Linked DNA regions of Homo sapiens: region 2 is linked to region 1. Evidence: promoter capture Hi-C in human tissues and cell types (Jung and others, 2019). All regions are on one chromosome and are shown on one strand. Each heading gives the region's core, a stretch centred on a gene start or on the middle of the fragment in contact. The rest is flanking DNA. Distances are from core to core; before and after follow the strand shown.

The links. The method cuts DNA at HindIII sites, captures the fragments that hold promoters and counts their contacts. A contact is called where the count stands out against the background at its distance.
Region 2: the fragment with the promoter of MMEL1 here is called in contact with a fragment that was not itself captured in region 1 in 2 of the 25 tissues and cell types used here (dorsolateral prefrontal cortex and lymphoblastoid cells).

Annotation. Positions count from the first base shown.
Region 1 is chr1:2,397,406-2,400,112 of GRCh38, forward strand. RER1 (retention in endoplasmic reticulum sorting receptor 1) reads left to right here. Exons shown (of 7, transcript NM_007033.5): 4 at 2,010-2,109. Among named protein-coding and RNA genes, the nearest start is that of RER1, 6.9 kb to the left of the region's middle. The HindIII fragment of the contact is 8,492 bases long and covers 1-2,707 here.
Region 2 is chr1:2,631,643-2,634,349 of GRCh38, forward strand. It overlaps MMEL1 (membrane metalloendopeptidase like 1), which reads right to left and starts at 1,374. Exons shown (of 24, transcript NM_033467.4): 1 at 1,224-1,374. MMEL1-AS1 (MMEL1 antisense RNA 1) reads left to right here. Exons shown (of 3, transcript NR_183343.1): 2 at 860-1,033. The HindIII fragment of the contact is 11,446 bases long and covers 1-2,707 here.

The DNA.
Region 1 (2,707 bases), core at 118-2,617:
ACCCGGAGTCGCCTCGCCAGGCTTCTCAGTATACCCAGGCCGTCCTGAGCCCAGCCTGGCCCTGCCCTGGGCACGTCCAGGCCTGGACAGTGGAGCCGCTGGTGTCCCTCCGACCCTGCTGCATGATGCTCAGGACAAGGTTGCGCTCTGTGGCTGCCTCATTCCTTGGGTGAAGAGTCCATGCCTTGGGTGTCATGAATGACTCGGCGTCCAAAGGGTTTATGTAGCTTTTCCTGAGCTCTCCCTTGTGTGAGGCCAAAGCACAGTGCAGGTTGAGACGCCGAGTCAAGTAAGAGAGACAGTGACCGAAGGGGGTCTTGAGGGTTTCCTTCGTGTGTTTTCGGGCACCCCTAGGTCAGGTGATGTCGTCTCAGACTTCACCTGGGTGCTCCTTTACTTGCTGGTAAACACGGGGTTTCTAGGAGCAAACCTGTAAGATGGGAATTCTTCGTCGGTCTTTAGAGGAGGTTACATAATCTTATGTGCAGAGCAGGGCATGTTGAAAGCCTTGTCTGGGCTATTTTCTCCTCTGGGGACTGTAGAAGATACTTCCTTGTTTAAAGCACACACCTTAATTTATTTATTTATTTTTGTTTTTAAATTGGAACTGGGTCCATTCTCTGATGGAAAGAATGACCTAGAAATCTTGAATCAGGGACTTCAGGCAGGAGCAGGGGGCGGGAAGAGTGCAGCACCCACAGGTCAGTTTTATTGCGTTCGAAACCAAGCTCGTGCCTCATTTGGCGTCTCTTCAGGTGTGGCCCTGCAGCCGAGGATGGACACACAGACATCAGTTAGCCCTCACATCCGGCGTTCAGCCGAGGATGGACACACAGACATCAGTTAGCCCTCACATCCGGCGTTCAGCCAGGGATGGACACACAGACATCAGTTAGCCCTCACATCTGGCGTTCAGCCGTCTGACTGGAAAAGCTTTTAGGCAGAAAGACTTCTTGTTTGTATAAGAAAGTTAAAGCATTTATATTTTTATTTATTGTTTTGAGATGGGGTCTCACTCTGTCGCCCAGGCTGGAGTGCAGTGGCCTGATCTTGGCTCACTGCAACCTCCACCTCCTGGGTTCAAGTGATTCTCTTACTTCAGCTTCCCGAGCAGCTGGGATCACAGGCATGTGCCACCATGCCTGGCTAATTTTTGTATTTTTAGTAGAGACGAGGTTTCACCATGTTGGCCAGGCTGGTCTTGAACTCCTGACCTCAGGTGATCCACCCGCCTTGGCCTCCCAAAGTGCTGGGATTGCAGGCGTGAGCCACCACACCCGACAGAAATTTAAGGCTTTTGAAATTGAGAATGCGGTTCTGGCTTTTAACGGGATATGCTTAATCATTTTAAAAAATGAATTAGTTGCAAATAAGTGTGCTGCACTCAGGCATCTTGCCAAAATTCTCCCCACTTTTCATCTCTTGAGGAAGGCTTGGCATAAGCACACTTTTCTGGATTTCCCAGTTGTGGATTTCTTCTGGGCAAAGGTTTAACCCTCCTGGCAGAGTGTTTTTGGCAATGTGAATTGTCTGTTGGAGGAACATCAGCCAGCACGCCTCCAGTCACAGTTGAGAGTCTGTCTTCTGTTTCTGATGAAGCTGCTCCTGGGTGGGGCTCTGGGCCAGCATCGCTCAGGTGCCCGGGCCACCCGAGCCTGTGGTGTAGCTTGAGCATGTGCTTCTTGAGAAAAGCCTCCTTTTCTGCTGCGCTCCTTGTGGGGCGTCTGTGGCTTCAGGGATCACATGTGTCTAACTGGACCCTTGAAGAGCTTTGCTCATTTGGGCCCTTGCTTGTCCGCTTTGTCTCTGTTCCCACAGAGTATAATTTGAGATAAATTGTTACCATGGGATTTCACTGTATTTCCTTGTCCTTGCTATGAGTAAGTTTTGTGTTAAAACAAAGTTAGATCAGTTAACAAAGTTGAGAGTGAACCGGAGTGCAAACGTGAACTGGCTCAGGCTGATGGACGGTCAGAGTGCACCACTGACTCTCTTTCCTTCTCTTTCAGGGTTGGTACATTGTGACCTATGCCTTGGGGATCTACCATCTAAATCTTTTCATAGCTTTTCTTTCTCCCAAAGTGGATCCTTCCTTAATGGAAGACTCAGGTAGGGTAGCGGCTGTGCACTGGGCTGTGTGGGCAGGTTGGGCCTTTCTTTTCTGATGGGATTGCCCAGTGTTCTCTGGAAACACCCGAGACTCTTCTCTTGGGGTTGAAATGTACTTGTAATGTTGGGTGATCAGGATATGTTTGTAGAATGACTCTTCAAACCCTCCTGACAGCCACGAAGTGGGTGTTCATTCTGTTTTCCCACTTTGCAGATGAGGAAACTGAGGCATACAGGGTTAGGTAACGTGTTCGAGGTCACATGGCACCACAGACAGTAGGGGTCTGAGGTGGACAGTCCGACTCCAGCCCCCGTCCCACCCCAGTCAGTGGTCCCTCTCAGAATCAGCGGAGGCAGCCATGACGAGGTTACCTTTTCCCGTAGCCAGAGGGTTCCACAGGCAGCTCACTGTGGTGCACAGAGACCGCCGGGACTCTAATGCCAGCATCGGGTCGGGTCAGGCTTTGGGCGGCCTTCTCTGGTTTCTGAGGAGCTGTGAGCTGAAGTGTTCCTGGTGCTTCGTGCTCCACTATTGGAAGACTTACGCAGCTCCTGGGCCTGCCTGGGCCAGGTAGGGGCCCTGAGTTCATGCCTGACT
Region 2 (2,707 bases), core at 124-2,623, 230 kb after region 1:
GCTCTGTGAACCGCAGCGTTCATGCATCCACACACCCTCAGATGCTTCCTTTGACGCCCTCTGCTGTGCCCCTAGACACCCCTATCCCGCCACTGGCTGAAGCTGGACTTTGGAGCCATCTGCCTCCCTTGCCTGCGTCCACACCCCGCGCCAGTCCTCAGCCTCCAAGCCCATCTCAGTCGGACCCTTTCTCATTCCTGCCACTCGCTGCCTGTTCCAGGCCCCACCAATCACCTCCCCCTGAGGGGTCTGTCTCACCCACTGATCCCCACCACAGGGGCCCAGGGGCCTGTAACTAGAATCAGAGGCCGTCACTCCCTGGCCCCTGGTAGCCAAACCCTTGGAGGAAGAGCCGGGCCTTGCCCTGATGTCAGGACCCTCTTTGGCCCTCCTCCCCTCTCACTATGCCCTCCCCTTACCCTCAGGCAGGCCCACCAGGTTTCTCCCCCCACCCTCCCCACCCACCCAGGCAGGCCTCCCAGATTCCTGCCAAGCTCCCCTTCCCAGTGGGGCCTTCCTTGGCTCGGCCTCGGGTTCAACTCGGGGAGCCCCAGCCCCTCCCCTGCTCTGTGTCTCTCCAGGGACTCCCAGCTCCACCTCCACATCTCCTCGATACTTCTGCAGCCCCCTGGGAACGTCAGCTCCACGGGCAGGGGCACCCTCTGTGGGGGCCGCTTCACCTAGACTGGCACCCCCACCCCAGAGACCTCGGTCATTATCTGTTGGGTGAATGAATGAATGAATGATGAATGAATGGATCAATCATTTGGACAAGTCTGAGCTCAGCTTCCACGAACTTCTTTCTTTGGTCAGAATTAATGAATCTGCTCCTGCGTCCTGAATTCATTCTGTCCTGCAGGTATCCACAGACGGCTCCATGTGCCCCACGGCACACACAAAATAAACACCTTCAAATTGAGCCAAGTACCCGGGGCAGGTGTGGAGTGTCTGCTGAGGCGAAGGCACTGCGGCTCCCTGGGGACACTCGTGGCCTCTCCAGGTTACTACAGATGGGGGACAGCGGGTCCTTTGGGTAAGATAAACCGTATGCCAGAGGGGGCTGCCTGCCCTGGCACAGGCGAGACTGCACACAGGACGCCCTGCCCAGCCTCCTGAGAAAGGGGCTGAGCGCCTGGAGAGGGTTTCAAGGCCCAGGAGAGGGCCTGGAGAGGGTTTCAAGGCCCAGGAAAGCAGGCCGGGTACCTTCCTTCAGCACAACTCACCTTTGCTCACTCAGGAGTGGCTGCCGCCCACAGTCAGGCCCCTGGAGACTGGGTCCCAGTGGGTTGGAGTTGGGGTGAGCTGGGCCAAGTGGGTGGATTTCCAGGGACTGGGATGGGAGAGCAGTGGCTTGGGGCTGAGTTGAGGCTGCCTGAAGGCTTCTGGGCCTCCTTTGTGATGCAGGCATGGGCTCCCTGGAGGCGGTGACTCCTGCTCACAGTCAGGAGGTTCCACTGGGGGTGTGGCATGGGGGGAGGGGCTGAGGGCAGCTTCTTGGCACCCGGGCTGCCCTGCCTCATGGGTGCCCTTCTCAGGGCCTCTGGCCCCGCCTCCCAAGCCGCCCTCCTTCCTTGCTTCTGTCTCCTGACCTTTCAGTCCAAAGGGGCCCCAGGGGCTGCTGGGAGGAAGGTCAGGCCCTTGTCCTACTCCACACCCTCTGCTCTGCCCCTAACCACCCGGTGGGGGGTTACAAAGGCCCCACCCTGGGTGTTCTTTCTCTTCAATCTCCAAGGAGGATGGTGGGTTCTGGGGATCTTGCCAAGGTGCAAGGGGAAGGGGTGGTCCTGAAGGGGGTGGGCGCTGGCTGCCAGGAGGGTCCCACCCAGAGATACTAGCCTGGGTTTGGCTGCTTCCCTCTGCCCACAGAAAACTCATGAGGTTCAGACCTCAAGCTACAGAGGGTGGGCAGCCCTGGCCGGGGAGCTGGCAGAAGGGCTCTGTGGCTTCTGAAGGGTTCGCAGTGATCAGAGTGTGAGCCCTGCACCCAGCCCTGCTTGCGGACGGGGGTTCTGGGCAGAGCAGTCTCTGTCTGATTCTCCAGGCCTGATGAGGTTTCTAGCTTCTGTTTCAGAATCCCCAGAACGAGTCCTCCTGCCCAGGCCTTGGGCATGTGTCAGGGCATCTGGGCAGGGCTGGGCCACAGAGCTAGGGGTCCCACGGCAAACTGCTCCTCACGGCCGCCCCGGCCAGGTCTCCCACGCTGAGTGCTGTTGGAAGCTTTGTCTATGGCCCTTTAGGTTGGCCAGGCCCTGGGAGGAGAAAGGCTTCGAGCTGCAGCCAGGCTGGGATCAGATCCCAGACACCACCCTGAGCCCGGGAAGTCTCTCCCTGGGGCCCGCTGGCTGTCCTAGCAGCCCCCTGCCATCACGCCCAGCAACCAGCCCAGGAGCTGCAGTCTGGCCTCAGGCTGCCTGGGTTGCTGGCCCAAATGGAAACAATGTCAAGGCCAGCCAAGCAGGAAGCTGGGACCGCCCTTTCTGGGGAGCTGGGAGTGGGCCAGGGTCCAGCCTGGCTGGAGGCTCCTGCTATGGGGAGAGGCCAGAGCCTTTCCGAGCCCACCTGCCCGACAGCCCTGGTGCCAGCAGGCCCTTTCTGGATGTCACAGTGTTCTTGTCTCTAAGGTACAAATCCACAGAGGGAGAAACAGATGCAGGGGCCTGGCCTACTCTCAGCAGGGGCTCCCTGGACTCTGAACCGACTCCCCAAG